4 separate regions of the Homo sapiens genome follow, and regions 2, 3 and 4 are each linked to region 1. Evidence: promoter capture Hi-C in 16 types of primary human blood cells and fetal thymus (Javierre and others, 2016). All regions are on one chromosome and are shown on one strand. The core of a region is centred on a gene start or on the middle of the fragment in contact, and the rest is flanking DNA. Distances in the headings are between cores, read along the strand shown.

What was found. The method cuts DNA at HindIII sites, captures the fragments that hold promoters and counts their contacts. A CHiCAGO score of 5 or more calls a contact.
Region 2: the fragment with the promoter of RPS9 here is called in contact with the fragment with the promoter of LINC01530 in region 1 in 3 of 17 cell types (activated CD4 T cells, total CD4 T cells and naive CD8 T cells); the score reaches 6.1 in activated CD4 T cells.
Region 3: a fragment that was not itself captured here is called in contact with the fragment with the promoter of LINC01530 in region 1 in 1 of 17 cell types (total CD8 T cells); the score reaches 5.8 in total CD8 T cells.
Region 4: a contact is called between the fragment with the promoter of PRKCG here and the fragment with the promoter of LINC01530 in region 1, in 1 of 17 cell types (naive CD8 T cells). The highest score is 5.8, in naive CD8 T cells.

The regions. Positions count from the first base shown.
Region 1 is chr19:51,592,110-51,596,076 of GRCh38, reverse strand. It overlaps LINC01530 (long intergenic non-protein coding RNA 1530), which reads left to right and starts at 1,697. Exons shown (of 2, transcript NR_034159.1): 1 at 1,697-2,128; 2 at 3,026-3,967. It overlaps ZNF175 (zinc finger protein 175), which reads right to left. Exons shown (of 5, transcript NM_007147.4): 5 at 3,567-3,967. RefSeq lists a silencer at 780-947 and enhancers at 1,030-1,079, 1,290-1,599, 1,346-1,981, 1,982-2,617, 2,618-3,253. The HindIII fragment of the contact is 8,842 bases long and covers 563-3,967 here.
Region 2 is chr19:54,198,665-54,202,631 of GRCh38, reverse strand. It overlaps RPS9 (ribosomal protein S9), which reads right to left and starts at 1,774. Exons shown (of 5, transcript NM_001013.4): 1 at 1,744-1,774; 2 at 1,351-1,472; 3 at 1,023-1,145. The coding sequence starts at 1,447. RefSeq lists a silencer at 1,461-1,954 and an enhancer at 1,717-2,386. The HindIII fragment of the contact is 3,345 bases long and covers 1-3,112 here.
Region 3 is chr19:54,092,808-54,096,774 of GRCh38, reverse strand. It overlaps OSCAR (osteoclast associated Ig-like receptor), which reads left to right. Exons shown (of 5, transcript NM_133169.6): 4 at 622-903; 5 at 1,418-2,107. The coding sequence ends at 1,554. Among named protein-coding and RNA genes, the nearest start is that of OSCAR, 6.0 kb to the left of the region's middle. The HindIII fragment of the contact is 5,004 bases long and covers 1-3,967 here.
Region 4 is chr19:53,879,919-53,883,885 of GRCh38, reverse strand. It overlaps PRKCG (protein kinase C gamma), which reads right to left and starts at 1,689. Exons shown (of 18, transcript NM_002739.5): 1 at 1,222-1,689; 2 at 692-723. The coding sequence starts at 1,391. RefSeq lists an enhancer at 686-1,237. The HindIII fragment of the contact is 17,886 bases long and covers 1-3,967 here.

The sequences.
Region 1 (3,967 bases), core at 448-2,947:
TACCTACTCACCTCAGCCAGATGAACTTCCCATTGGTTTTTCAACCCCTTGCATCTTTGGCCAGGCTGATCTCATTGCGCAAGACACTTCCCTAAACACTGTGGTAGACCTAACTCTTACCTTCAAGTCTCAGCTCAAACTTTCATTCATTCATTTAACAAATACCCACTGAGTGCCGCCTATGTACCCAGCATGCTCTAGGTACTGGGACACAGCAGTGAGCAAGATAGGAAAGGTTGCAGCTGTCAGGGCACTGATGTTCTAATGGAGGAACCAGGCCATGGATAAGGAAGTAAATGACTAAGATGCTTTCCAAATACGAGGGAATTATCTTTGGTGGTATGACTGGGGGGGGGGGAACAGGGAGGGGGTTCTTTAGGGTGGCTGGAGGCCTTTGAGCTGAGGCCAACAAAATGAGTAGACAGATATTGGGTCAGGGTGGGAAGAATGCTCCAAATTGAGTTAATAGCAAATGCAAAGGACATGAAGGGCAGGGCCTGGCTGTGTTCAGCCCATTGGAAAGTGTGTTGTGACTGAGGACGACCAGAAAGGACCAGAAGCTTAGAGGTTGGCAGGATAAGGAGCTTGGATTTTATTCTGAGATGGGAACCACTGGATGATTTTAAGCTGGGGGGCAGGGTAGTGACTGGTGACAGGATCTGATTTATATTTCCACAGGCTTCCTGGCACTGTGCCTGAATAGAGGGTGGAGTGTGGCAAGGGAAGAAACAGAACAGTGAGGAGGCCCCTGCAGTGATGCAGGTGAGGAGTAACGGTAGCTCGGAGCAGAATGGAGACAGTGGAAGTGGAGAGAAGTGGTTAGATTCTGGGCCTCTTCTGGAGATAGAGACGATGAGACTCACACAAGATTTGGTTGCGGGAGGGAAGCGGATGAGAGAAACAGAACACTGGCGACCATTCCAAGATTTTGGCTTGAGCACTTGGATGGACAGTTAGTGGGGAGGAGGCAGAAAGATTGTGAGAGGAGCAGGTTTAGGACAGGGAATCTGGGATTTCGTTTGGATGTGGTAGATTTGAGGTCCTTTGCTCTGTAAGGTCTTTCCTGAACCCTGGGCTGGGTCTAGCACCTCCTCTGTGTTCCCACAGCCTCCTGAGCACCCCCTGGGCCAGCCCTGACCACTCTGTGTTGTAACCAGGACAGAGGAGGGTGCACTCGCACTGCACCCAGGTTGAAGGGCGAGAGTGAGAAGGTGTCAGGCTGGGCCGCAGAATCCAAAGCGGGTCAGCAGGTACAACAGCTGCTTAGAGCACTCCCACCCGGAGAGAGGGATTGAGAGATCACGGAAAAGGGTGCCATCTTTCCAGGGACGCCTACCAGAACGCGGGGGAGAGAAATACAGAGACCCTCAACTCCGCCACGTCATCGCGACAAAGGGCCAGGACCGGCCGGCCGCGGGATGGGCGCTCACCTGGGCAGAACTGGAGCTGGAAGGGCCAACCTCCAAAGAAACGAGGAGCGGGCGGAAGGACTACGACTCCCGGAAGGCTTTGGGCCCATCCGCCTACGACTCCCAGGTGCCCCTGCGTTGCGTCGTCCCGAAACACTTGCGGCTCTCGGACAAACTGGGCCTACAGTTCCCAGAGATCCTCGCGGCAGCGCTGCGCATTCTGCGCACGCCTCCCAGAGTGTACTAGGCCGGTCCGGCCCGCTTCCCGTCTGCGCCTGCGCAAGCACAATAGCCGTGCCAGAATTCTCTGCCAGCTGCTGTGCACTGCTGTCAGTGCAAAGATGGGATGGACTTTTTTTTCAGATTTTCTGCTGTTGTGGGAGTATGGCAAGAGTTTGAGGGGGCGGAGAAAGAGATTGGGAATGTGAAAAGGGAAGATAGCACCTGCGCTAAGCACATTCCTAGGATTGGGCCGCGTCTCGGGGATGCAGAGTGGGCTCTTCGGCGCGCCCTGCAGCCATGGGAGTGGACGCCTGCCCAGGCCGAAGGGCAAGGACTTGCGGGGTGGGGTCTCTGTGCATGCGCGGAGCTGAAAGGGAGCGTTTTGCAGATCTCCACGCGTGCGCAACTCTCGGGACGTGGACGCGGTGAACAGTTACGCACAATCGTCTTTCTGACACAAACACACCCTGCCAGGTGGAAGCCAGGATGGAGGGCAGGTGAGACCCGTAAGGCAAGATCCCAAAACCAAGGAACGGAGCACTCTCCCCGCTTGCTCCCCAGATCCAAGCCCTCCACTTCCTTCCAATGCCCCCCTTCCCGAAACTGCTCCCTCCTGTATATTCTGAGATCTTATCACTATTCCCGTGAGGCCCTTGATAAGGAGGATTGAGAGTGAAGGGTGATGGGAGACACGCCTTGGGCGTCTTCTGTCCACCTCAAGGATTGAACTTTGGTAACTGGAACTCATTCATTTGTTAATCTGTGTGCTAGGCCCTTTGACCCGCTGGCCAGATGCACCGGGACACAGGTGTATTCAGCCTGGTCCAGAGATAAGGATGATAAATCTTAATGTAAAGGTATCAGATGTTAAGGGCTGCAGGAGCCCAGAGGTTACAAGTGCTGCAAGCCAGAACATGGGGAAACAACAGCAATTAAGCCGTTAGCTTGTGCCTTGGAGGGGTGTTTGCCCTGCACCCCACTCACTACCTGAAGATAAATGGCTTCTCCAACGTGTAGTGGGGTTGGGATGATGAGGATGACATCACTGCCAGGTGGGAGGCAGGAGCTGCAGGTCCTGACATGATGAGGCAGGTATGGGCCGCCCTGGGCTGAGGGGGACATGGGCTACCCTGGACTGGAGGGCTGGGCTGTGGCATGGGGACCCTGTCAGAGACAGGTGTTTGGCCTCCATGCCTTCCTGTGTCTCTGGAAGGGTGAAACTAAGCGGGATGCTCCTCTCCCAGCCCCACCTGCTTTTCAGAGGCTACCATATGCTGGAGGGGGAAGATCCTGGCCACAAGCAGAGGCCCTGGAGGTGAATCAGTGTTGGAAGTGGGGTGGTTGGTTCTGGGTCCTCCCTGAGGCTCACATGGCTGCCCCTCCCCATCCTCCAGGCCTCGCCTTCTGTCCCGGATCCGCCAATCCTCCGATCCCTGGATCCTCTGATGATGGCATCAACTGTCTGGGCTACAGGTTGCTCTCCAAAGAGTGGCTGCCCCTCTACACCAACCTCACTGTGGACATAACTTCCAAGCCTCAGGAGACCCAGTGCAAAGCTGAGGGGTATCTTATCTGGAAGCCAGAAAGAGCCCCTGAGGCCAAGGTCACAGGGAAGCCCTCCCACTCACCCCACCTGGTTTCTTTTAAAAGTAGAGTTTATTTTATCTCCTTTCTGCCATCCCTAATTCCTTCCTTCCATCTGTCCATCCATCTTCTTTCCCCTCCCTCCCTTCCTCCCTTCTCCTTCTCCTCCTCCCCACACCTGCTTCTTTTCTCTTTCTTTCAACTATGTCCAGAAGGTCCTTCTTAACAAACACTAATTAGTACAGGGAAAGGTCTCTTTAAGTGAATGCATTTAAAATAGGGAGTCCACCTTTGTGGTAAATAGTGTGCACGAGGTGAGTCTGGATCAGGACTTCACACTTGATAACGGAATTCAATTTCTCAAAATACCTTTATTTCAGATTTAATGAAATTCCATGTTTGTTGAATCATTAAGAACGAGCATTTGTGTTGTACTCATGGTGGACAGCCACCATTCTAATGCTTGACTTTACATAATTAACGCATGTAATCTGCAAAGGAGCCACAAGGCGAGATCTATTATTATTCCCATTGTGCTGCTGGAGAAATTAAGGCAGAGAGGTTAAGTTGCTTGCCACCAAACTAGCGAGGGGCAGAGCTGGGATGTGTAGCATCCAGGTAGGTTGGCTCCAGAGCCCATGAGCCTAACTACTACTGTGCCCAACCTTTGTGCCAATCGCCACAACAGTCAAAGGATGGATCAAGTACTGGTTTTGGGGGTGGGGGCAGGGGACTCTGGGCAGTATGTTTTC
Region 2 (3,967 bases), core at 525-3,024, 2.6 Mb before region 1:
ACACCGCATCTCAGAGTAGATTTTAAAACAAGATGGTTAAGATGGTACATTTTCAATTTAATGTGTATTTCACCACAATTAGTAAAGTAAGCCTAAGTCTATGTGATCTGCATGCCCTCCTAAAGTCATCACCTGAAATGCTGTTCCCTGAGACATTTTACAGGTTCTCTCCTGTTCAGGCCTTTGCTAAATACCACCTAAATGTCCTTGACCAGCTTAAAAAAACAAGCACCAGCCTGGACAACATGGTGAAAACCCATCTCCACTAATAATAGAAAATTAGCCAGGCTTGGTGGCCCATGCCTGTGATTCCAGCTACTTAGGAGGCTAAGACAGGAGAATCGCTTGAACTCTGGAGGCGGAGTTTGCAGTGAGCCAAGATTGCGACAACTACACTCCAGCATGGGCAATGGAGCGAGACTCCGTCTCAAAAGTAAAATTAGCCAGGTGTGGTGGCGTGCGCCTGTCTGTAGTCCCAGCTACTTGGGAGGCTAAGATAGGAGAATTGTTTGAACCCAGGAGGCGGGGGTTGCAGTAAGCCGAAATGGCGCCACGGCACTCCAGCCTGGGCAACAGAGCAAGACTCCGTCTCAAAAGACTAAATAAAACGAGAAAACTTAATTAAAAAAACAATAAACCAAGCAAATGTGCAAACCCTGTTATCACCATCACTTAGCCCAGAAATTCCACTTCATAGTCTACTCTCATCCACTAGCAAACAGGCCACATAAACAGAATATAAAGATATAGACGGGTGCCCAGGTGTGCCAGGCCTATCTTTAGCTCTGGTCATTACTAAACTGAAGGTCCAATAACTGGGCAAAAAAGCCACACACCTAAGAAACAGGGCAAAGACTGATCCAGATACACTTTTCCTACTCCACAAGTGCCACTAAAAGTTAGAAGGCTGGTTCCATTTATCCAATGACACAACTCTCATCACTGGAACAGAGGCAACAGAAGGGAGAATGAACCTCACAAGCCCTGCACCCCATCCCTCTGCTGTGGACTCCCATACGCACCTTCGAACAGACGCCGTGGGTCCTTCTCATCAAGCGTCAGCAGTTCCCGGGCGGCCTTGCGGATCTTGGCCAGGGTAAATTTGACCCTCCAGACCTCACGTTTGTTCCGGAGCCCATACTCGCCTGGTGGGGAGAAGGGGGTGGACAAGTGTAGTCCCACGTACTGGCACAACAACTAGACTGGCAGCTTTGGAATCACAAAACCTTCCTAAACCACGAATAGTACCAAATTTAGGGGACGGACTAGATAGAGTACATGGGCACCTTCATCCACGTGCTAACCGCCTCCCGGAAGCCGAACCACTTCCCGGAAGCCTTGGCCACTCACCGATCAGCTTCAGCTCTTGGTCGAGACGAGATTTCTCGAAGGGTCTCCGCGGGGTCACATAAGTTTTGCGACAAACCCAGCTCCGGGCCACTGGCATGTTGGCTCCGCTTCCCCGTCTGCGCCTGCGCGGGAGAGAAGTGTGAGCGTAAGGGATCCAAACGGCGCCTGCGCAGTCCCACAACTACGCCAAAACCTCGCGGAGCCCAGATCCGATCTCGCGAGAATAACCTCCAACGCTCTCATAGTCAGTATCTGCCCCCACAACCGTGCTGCACTCCCGTTCAACCACCCTGCTCTGTTTCCTAACGTCTTTAGCTTACTCATGGAAACTCGGAAGGCCCGGGCCACCATCCAACCCAAACCCTAGAGAAAAAGCACACCACCGCACCTCACCTAAGCAAACCACCCGGTCACTGAGAAAGAGGCGCGGAAGCGCCACGGCTGCGCTCTTATAGTAACGCCGGCGTCTCGTGACGTTTTCACGCACCACGCACGTCAGAGCCAATCAGAAGAGGCGTTGGCTGGCTGAGAAGCAGTGGAGACGTGAGGCTGGGCTAGAGCGGCGTGCTAACCTGGGAGGACTAGGTTTTTTCCGGCCAGGGAGTGGAAACCTGAGAAGTAGGGAGAACCTTCCTTCTCCGCCCCTGGACGGTGGTTTTTCTTTTTCTTTCTGAGACAGGGTCTCGCTCCGTCGCCCAGGCTGGAGTGCAGTGGCGTGATTTCGGCTCACTGAGGCCCCGACCAACCTCTCGGGCTCGAGCGATCCTCCCACCTCCTCCCCAGTAGCTGGGATTACAGGCACACGCCACGACGCCCGGGTAGCATTTTTTTTTTTTAACAGTCGGCGTCTTGCCATGTTGCCCAGGCTGGTCTTGAACTCCCGGCCTCGAGAGAGCCTCCCGCCGTGGCCCCCCCAAAGTGCTGGGATTACAGGCGTGAGCCACCGCGCCCAGCCGAGATTATTTCTGTCACTAACAATAATGTGGCATTCTGGAACGCTATGTGCCACATACTGTTCTAAGAATTTTAAATGTATTTACTCAATCTTCAATACATACTTACAGAGCACTCTCAGAGAAGTTGCCCCCCCACCCATGGTACTATTATTATCAATAGCCACTTAAGGGGTATTAGTACTATTATCAGTAATTTATTTTATTTTTGAGACGGAGTTTTTCGCTCTCGTCACCCAGGCTGGAGTGCAGTGGTGCGATCTCGGCTCACTGCAACCTCCGCTTCCCGGGTTCAATCGATTCTCGTGCCTCAGCCTCCCGAGAAGCTGGGACTACAGGCGCCCACCACCATGCCCGGCTAATTTTTAAATTTTTAGTAGAGACGGGGTTTTGAACTCCTGGTCTCCAACGCCTGACCTCAAGTGATCCACCCGCCTCAGCCTCCCAAAGTGCTAAGATTACAGGTGTGAGCCACCGCGCCTGACCTAGAGTTCTCTTTTTATATATAGTCTGGTTATTGTCTGTCTGTACACCCATCTCTCCACTCCGAATGCGATGGTCTGTCTCCACAGCTCGTGTTCTTCAGTTGTCTTCCCTACGCTGCTGCCTCGGCAGTCACTATCTCCTCAGGAAGCAGTCCCACCCGCCCCTTTCTCTTCCACGGCATCCACACCATCCGGATGCCTGGATTCAAATGCCACGTCACCACTTGCCAGCTGCAGTGCCTTCGACAAGTTTCTCAATCACTCTGTGCCTCAGCGTCCTCCTCTGTAAAACGGCGAATGATGGTAGCGCCTACCTCATAAGCTTGTGAGGATTAAGTGAGAGTCTATCCAGTGTTGAGGAGAGTGGCATAAATAAAGCGCCTAGTGGTAGCTACCATCGTCATTATTGTCATCTGCATTGTACTTCCATATCTTACAAACTACCTTGTTCAGTTTTATGGGTTTTTTGTTTGTTTGTTTTGTTGTTTTGAGACGGGGTTTTGCCATATTGCCCAGGCTGGTCTTGAACTCCTGGGCTCAAGTGATCCACTCGCCTCAGCCTCCCCAAGTGCTGGGATTACAGGTGTAAGCCACCATGCCTGGCCAAATTTTATGCATTTTTGTATCTTGAACACGCGTATATTATTCATCTGGAAGGGGGAAACGTGGAAGGAAAAAACTTCCATAAGTTTTCACTCCCTTCAGGATGAAGTCCAAGCTCCACAAATTCCGGGTGCCTCGTGATTACAGAGATGGTTTTATAATGGTGGTTGAACCTGTAGGTTCTCAAGTCTTAAAAAAGATCTGCGTTTGAACCTCAGCAGTCACTGACGAGCTCTTGATCTTAGGCAAATTAGCCTCTTCAAGAGTGCTAAATGGGAGAAAGTAACAGGACTTTCCTCATAGGGTTTGATGATTTAGAGTAAAAAAAAAAAAAAAAGAAAAGAAAACCAGCACAGAGTCTTGTGTACTGAAGGTGCTTAATATCTTAACACAGCTGACTCTGTACAGTCTGGGGGCGAGGGGCACTGACCCCCAGCTCAGCCGAAAACCTCCATATAGGCTGGGCGCGGTGCCTCACGCCTGTAATCCCAGCACTATGTGGAAGGCCAAGGCCGGCGGATCAACTGAGGTCAGGAGTTCGAGACCAGCCTGGCCAACATGACAAAACCTGGTCTC
Region 3 (3,967 bases), core at 466-2,965, 2.5 Mb before region 1:
GAGGCGGGCAAACAGATTCACAGACACAAGAAAAGACAGATACAGAGACACTAGGGGGAGAGAGAGAGACAGGGGAGCAGAGAGAGAGAGAGGTACAGTGCGGGGGGAGAGAGAGAGAAAGAGGCAGAAGGAGAAAGGGAGGCAGAGAGAGAGGGAGGCAGAGAGAGAGGGAGGCAGAGAGAGAGGGAGGCAGAGAGAGAGGCAGGCAGAGAGAGAGGGAGGCAGAGAGAGAGGGAGGCAGAGAGAGAGGGAGGCAGAGAGAGAGGGAGGCAGAGAGAGAGGGAGGCAGAGAGAGGGAGGCAGAGAGAGAGGCAGGCAGAGAGAGAGGCAGGCAGAGAGAGAGGGAGGCAGAGAGAGAGGGAGGCAGAGAGAGAGGGAGGCAGAGAGAGAGGGAGGCAGAGAGAGAGGGAGGCAGAGAGAGAGGGAGGCAGAGAGAGGGAGGCAGAGAGAGAGGGAGGCAGAGAGAGAGGCAGACAGAGAGAGAGACAGGCAGAGAGAAAGAGAGGCAGAAAGAGAGAGAGAGGCACAGAGAAAGCGAGAGACAGAGGAGAAGGAGAAACAGAGCGAGCGAGCGAGCGGAAGACGCTCACGCGGCCCCGGACTCTCACCCCGTCTCTGCAGAGGAGCTGCCGCGGCCGTCGCTGGTGGCGCTGCCCGGGCCGGTGGTGGGTCCTGGCGCCAACGTGAGCCTGCGCTGCGCGGGCCGCCTGCGGAACATGAGCTTCGTGCTGTACCGCGAGGGCGTGGCGGCCCCGCTGCAGTACCGCCACTCCGCGCAGCCCTGGGCCGACTTCACGCTGCTGGGCGCCCGCGCCCCCGGCACCTACAGCTGCTACTATCACACGCCCTCCGCGCCCTACGTGCTGTCGCAGCGCAGCGAGGTGCTGGTCATCAGCTGGGAAGGTGAGGGCCCTGAGGCCCGGCCCGCCTCCTCCGCCCCAGGAATGCAGGCCCCAGGACCTCCGCCCTCAGACCCAGGAGCCCAGGCCCCCAGCCTCTCCTCCTTCAGACCCAGGGGTCTAGTCCTGCAGCCCCTCCTCCCTCAGACCCAGGATTCCTGGGACCCAGCCCCTCCTCCCTCAGATCCAGGAGTCTAGTCCTCCAGCTCCTCCTCCCTCAGACCCAGGATTCCCGGGCCCCAGTACCTCCTCCCTCAGACCCAGGACTCCAGGCCCCCAGCCCCTCCTTCCTGGACCCAGGACTCCAGGCCCCCAGCCCCTCCTTCCTGATCCAGCAGTCCAGGCCCCAGCCCCTTCTTCCTGGACCCAGGAGTTGAAGCCTCCATCGACTCCCCCTCAACTTTGAGACTGTAGAGTCAGGTCCCTAAGTCCACCCCAGGGGCTGGAAACCTGGAGTTCAGGGCCCAGACTTTGGGGTCCGGGAGCTGATGGCCCCTCTCTCCCGGCTCCGCCCGCAGACTCTGGCTCCTCCGACTACACCCGGGGGAACCTAGTCCGCCTGGGGCTGGCCGGGCTGGTCCTCATCTCCCTGGGCGCGCTGGTCACTTTTGACTGGCGCAGTCAGAACCGCGCTCCTGCTGGTATCCGCCCCTGAGCCCCAGGAGCACTGCAGCCCGAGACTTCCAACCTGAGTGGCGGAGAAGCTGGGACCCTGGGCTGGACTGTCCTTTCCTGCAGCCCCACAGTCCTGCTGGCTGAGCTCCGCGGAACGGTCCTTAGACCCCGCTGTGCCCTGTGCTGTAGCTTCTTTCCAGGCCTTTCCCAAGGAGTAGCTGAAAGGAAGACGCGATTAGTGGTTAAGACTTCCAAGCCAGAAGACAGAGGGTTCGAATCCCAGCACTGCCGTCTACTCACTGTAGTAGTAGCAGCTACAGAAAGGTAGTAGTGAGACGTGAAGCCAGCTGGACTTCCTGGGTTGAATGGGGACCTGGAGAACTTTTCTGTCTTACAAGAGGATTGTAAAATGGACCAATCAGCACTCTGTAAGATGGACCAATCAGCGCTCTGTAAAATGGACCAATCAGCAGGACACGGGCGGGGACAATAAGGGAATAAAAGCTGGCGAGCGCGGCACCCCACCAGAGTCTGCTTCCACGTTGTGGGAGCTTTGTTCTCTTGCTCTACACAATAAATCTTGCTGCTGCTAACTCTTTAGGTCCGTGCCATCTTTAAGCGCTGTAACACTCACCACGAAGGTCCCTGGCTCCATTCTTAAAGTCAGCGAGACCACAAACCCACAGGAAGGAACCAACTCTGGACACGGTAGCAGCATTCAGAAAGCGCCCTTCCCCAACTCTCTCTTGCCTTGACGGTAAAATGGATGCACTGATAAAACCCACTTCATAGGATTGTTGTAGGAGTCAGTGGGTAATACACATAAAACATTTAAAGCAGTAACTGGCCCGTAGTAAGTGTTCAATAAATGTTAGCTACCCTGTAACACCGATTTCTACCAGACTCAGTGCCGAAAGGAAGGTCTCACCTTTTTGCCATCAAGCATAATCAAGCACGACTTTTTCTTTCTTTCTTTCTTTCTTTTTTTTGAGAGAAGATCTCACTCCACCCAGGCTGGAGTGCAGTGGCGTGATCTCGGTTCACTGCAACATCCGCCTCCCGGGTTCAAGTGATTCTCGTGCCTCAGTCTCCTGAGTAGCTGGGATTACAGGTGTGCGCCATCACGCCCAGCTAATTTTTGTATTTTTAGTAGAGATGGAGTTTTGCCAAATTGGCCAGGGTGGTCTCGAACTCCTGACCTCAAGTGATCCACCTGCCTCGGCCTCCCGAATAGCTGGGATTACAGGTGCGTACCACCATGTCCGGCTAATGTTTGTATTTTTAGTAGAGACGGGGTTTCACCATGTTGACCAGACTGGTCTTGAACTCCTGACCTCAAGTGATCCGCCCGCCTCAAGAACTGAATTTTGAAGTCTAATTAGCCACCTGGGGGCGCTAACGTGTTGAAAAGACGGGAGGAGAGACTGAGCGGGTCTTCCGGGGTTTGATCTCAGTGCCAGAGGGGCCTTGGTAGAACATATGTGGGACAACCTCCCCGGCATATGTGGCTGTGGGAAATAATAACAATTTTAAAAAAGGAATAAGCCGGGGGTGCTGGCTCACACCTGTGATCCTAGCACTTTGGGAGGCTGAGGCAGGTGGATCACGAAGTCAGAAGTTCGAGACCAGCCTGGACAACATGGTAAAACCCCGTCTCTACTAAAAATACAAAAATTAGCCGGGCATGGTGGCGGGCGCCTGTAATCCCAGCTACTCGGGAGGCTGAGGCAGGAGAATTGCTTGAACCCAGGAGGCGGAGGTTGTAGTGAGCCGAGATTGCATCACTGCACACTCCAGCCTGGGTGACAGAGCAAAACTCCGTCTCAAAAAAAAAAAAAAAAAAAAAAGAATAAAGAAGAGACGCAGGTTATAAGGAAGGCACCAGACCTGGATGAGGCTGTGATGTCATCAAATCCAGTCTTCCCACTTTATAAATGGGAAAATGGTGGAAAGAGAGGTGATATTAAGTTTACCTAAACATGTACAGGAAGTCAGTGGCACATCAGGGAGTCTTTTTTTTTCCTTTTTCCCTCTTTTTTTATTTTATTTTATTTTATTTTATTTTTTTTGAGGTGGACTTTCGCTCTTGTTGCCCAGGCTGGAGTGCAATGGCGCCATCTCGGCTCACCACAACCTCCGCCTCCCAGGTTCAAGTGATTCTCCTGCCTCAGCCTCCCGAGTAGCTGGGATTACAGGTGTGAGCCACCACACCTGGCTAATTTTGTATTTTGAGTAGAAACAGGGTTTCTCTGTGTAGGTCAGGCTGGCCTCGAACTCCCAAACTCAGGTGATCCGCCCGCCTCAGCCTCCCAAAGTGCTGGGATTACAGGCATGAGCCACCGTGCCCGGCCCTCTTTTTTTTAAAATGTATTTCCACCCAAAGCAGAGAAAAAGAAGTCTTGGCCGAGTTTGTACTTCAACTTAACTCCATGTATTCATCCATTCAATCACTC
Region 4 (3,967 bases), core at 440-2,939, 2.3 Mb before region 1:
AAAGAGAGAAAGAAAATAGGATCCCATTGACAAACAGACACAGGCCCACGGACGGAGATCAGAAAGCCAGGAGAGAGGCAGACAGATTCAAAGAGCGAAAACCGAAATATCTTCAGACGCAGCCCAGGAAGCAGCAACTTGGGCAGAAGTGAGTCTGGGGGCGCTGCTGCCGGCCCGCCCCCCACCCTGACTCACTCTGTTCTCAGCAGTAGCAGCTGGTGCTCAAGGACTCGCCCCCCTCTCCCGCCCCCCAGAACTGCCGGCCCCGCCCGGCCCCCACTCGCCCATTGGTGACCCCACCCGGCCTGCCCCTGCCTAGGACGGCTGGTGTTGTCATGGCGACGGCAGCCTGGGGTGGGGGGGGGCTCTGACTTTGCATCTCCAGCCCCCTCCCCCTTCCCCCCTTCAGCTCCCCTTTTCCAAATCTCCATGTTCCCATGGCAACAGATTCTCCAAATATCTGTCCCCACCTGGAGCCGGCCGAGGGAGGGGCCCCCAGCACCACCTCCGCGGTGGCCCCACCATCAAAGCTCCCTCCCCACCACAGGCTGTGTCTCTGCCACACCCCCCGCCCCGGGCTCCCCCGCGCCTCTCTGGGGACCAGAGAACACGTGTGTCAAGCAGCCTCAGCTGTGGGGCCCCAGCCTCCACCCTCCTGAGGGTCCCAGGAGCCCCGGTCCCCAGCTCTTACCTTGACATTGCAGGCCCTGCTTTCCGATACCCCTGGAAGAGTCAGGGATCCTAGGTCAGTGCAGAAAGGGGTACCTGGACCCCCAACCTCTGCGAGCCACAGGGGGCCTGCGCTCTCTGACCCTCCTCCCGCAGGGCCCAGGTGTCCAAGCCCCGGCCACCTCCTCTTTCTAGAACCCAGAAATTTTGGCCCCCAGCCCTTCTTCCCTTAGACTGGAGTTCAGCCCCCAGTTTCTTCCTCCTTCAGACCCAGGAATCCAGGCTCCCAGCCCCCCAGGCCCTTCCTCCCTCAGACCCAAGACTCCAGGACCTCTGTCCTCCAGCCTCCTCCTCCCTCGGACCCAGCACTCCAGGAACCAGCCTCCTCCTCACTGAAACCCAGGAGTCGAAGCTCCCAGCGTTCCCTGGCCATCCTAGAACCTGGGAGTCGGGACTACAGCCCCCTCCTTCTTCCTTCCACAGGGGTCGGCGTGATAGGAGTCTGCACCCCTAGTCCCCTCGTCCCCCAGTCCCCCAGCCCCCTTCCCTCACCAGATGAAGTCGGTGCAGTGGCTGCAGAAGGTGGGCTGCTTGAAGAAGCGAGCGGTGAACTTGTGGCTCTTGACTTCGTGGACCACCTTCTGCCTCAGGGCCCCCTTTCTGCAAAACAGGGGCCGGGGTCCCCCCTCTGAATCGCCTACGCCGGGGCCCAGACCAGCCATGGCCCCAGAAACGTAGCAGGGACCAGGATCCTGCCTTTCTTGGGGGAAACAGGTGGAAGGGAGAGGAGCTGGAGACTCGAAGGATCAAAGGAGCCACAGGGAAATTCCGAGGTGGGCAGGAGAGGGGCAAGGCACCTCCAGGTGCGGAGCGCGCCAGGCAGGGAGCGGCACCCCGGGCGCGCCGGCTCCGCCAGGGGGAGCGGGCGAGTGGGGAGGAAGAGCCAAAGGCAGGGGCGCCGGCAGCCGGAGGCACGGGCGGCGGCGGTGGGAGCTCCAGCTCCGGCACCTGCTGAAATGTGGGAGCCCCGGGTTGGGGGAGGCGTTGCCAGGACGACCGAGAGGGCGGGGTTTCGGCTTAAAGGCGCTCCCCTCCCGGAGACACGGGACAAATGTCCTCCCTCCCCGCCCCCCACACGTGCACACACCCACTCCGGGGGCTGGCTGGAGGGAGGGGCATCCTCTGAGCCTGGCTCCCCCCCACCACCCTGCAATCTGTCATCCTGCCCCGCGTTCCTCCCCCACTAGGGTGCCTCGTGTGTCCTGTGGGCGCCCTGGGGTCCCTGTGTCTGACCCTGCCCCTCTCCTTCCTTCAACAAACTTTATGCTCCACGCTAGGGGTCCAGCAGTGGACAGGCAGGGCGCTAAGGTTCTCACTTTCTCCGATGCCGGCTGAGTCTTTATTTCCTCCCCTGGCCTCTCCATTATTTGTGTAGCTCTCTGCCTGCGTGTGTCTTTCTTGTGACCTCTGTCCCTCTCCCTCTATTCCTGGAGCGAGCTTTCTCGATGTGTCTCTGTTTCTGCCTCTCAGTGGATCTGTTTTCTTTTCCCTGTCTCCGAGAAATGCTGTTTCTATTTCTTTCTATTTCTCTATTTCCTCTGCTGTGTGTCTCCATCTGTATCTGTCGCCATCTCTGGGTCTTGGTGTCGTGGTTCTTCTCGGGGTCTTGGTCTGCCTCACTGTGAATCAGTCTCCCTCTGTCTCTCCCTCTACGTCTGATAAATTCTTCCGCCTCTGTCTCCCTGAGTTTGTTTCTTTCCCTGTCTTTGTCTCTCTGGCTCTGTGAATCTCTATTCTCTCTCAGGCTGTGACTCTGTCTCCCCCTCCCTCTGCAACTTGATCTCTTTGGGAGTCCGTCTCTGTCTTCCTCTCTGGGAGTCACTCTCTAAATGCTTGCCCCTGTCTCTCCCTCTCTCTCCTCACCTCCACCCGTCTTTATAAATGCCTTTGTCTCTGTCTCTCTCCCTTCCTCCGGTTCTGCAACTCCGTCTCTGTTTTTGTTTGTCTCTTCCTATATCTCTCTGGTTCCATCTGTTTCTCTGTACTTGTCCCTCTCTGGCTCTGTTGATCTCTCTCTCTCTCTCTGATGCTAGGGGGGTCTCTCTCCTGTCTATGACTCAGTCTCTCTCTCCCTCTTCTCTTCTCTGTCTCTGTCCCTTTCTCTCTGACCCAATCTCTCTCCCTCTTCTCTTCTCTGTCTCTGTCTCTGTCCCTTTCTCTCTGACCCAATCTCTATTTGTCTCTCTGGCTCTATGAATCTCTTTCTGTTTCTGGGGATCTCCCCGTCCCTCTGTGTCTGTGATTCACTCTCCCTGTGTCTCTGGCTCTCTGAATCTATTCATCTCTCTGACTCTCTGAATCTGTGTCTCTGGCTCTATGAATGTCTATGTCTCTCTGACTCTGAATCTGTGTCTCCGGCTCTATGAATGTCTCTCTATGTCTCTCTGACTCCCTGAATCTGTGTCTCTGGCTCTATAAATCTATGTCTCTCTGACTCTGAATCTCTCTGTGTCTCCGGCTCTATGAATGTCTCTCTATGTCTCTCTGACTCTGAATCTCTCTGTGTCTCTGGCTCTATGAATCTCTATGTTTCTCTGACTCTGAATCTCTCTGTGTCTCTGGCTCTATGAATGTCTTTCTATGTCTCTCTGACTCTCTGAATCTCTGTGTCTCTGGCTCTATGAATCTCTATGTCTCTATGAATCTCTGTGTCTCTGGCTCTATGAATCTCTTTCTATGTCTCTCTGACTCTCCGAATCCCTCTGTGTCTCTGGCTCTATGAATCTCTCTGTTTGTCTCTTTGGCTCTGTGAATCTCTGTGATTCAGGCTCTCTGAATCTCTCTATATGTCTATGAATCTCTCTGTGTCTCTGGCTCTATGAATGTCTCTCTATGTCTCTCTGACTCTCTGAATCTCTGTGTCTCTGGCTCTATGAATCTTTCTATGTCTCTCTGACTCTCCGAATCTGTGTCTCTGGCTCTATGAATCTCTCTGTTTGTCTCGTTGGCTCTGTGAATCTCTGTGATTCAGGCTCTCTGAATCTCTCTATATGTCTCTATGAATCTCTCTGTGTCTCTGGCTCTCTGAATCTCTGTCTCTGGCTCTAGGAATCTCTGTCGAGGGTCTCTAGATAGAGACTTCCCTCTCTGTGTCTCTGTGATTCAGTCTCTCTCCCTCTTCCCTTTTCTGTGTCTCTCTCTCTGTCCCCTTCTCTGACCCACTCCATGTGTCTATCTGGCCCTGTGAGTCTCTCTCCATCTCTGAGGTCTCTCCCTCTCTCCCTGTGTCTCTGTGATT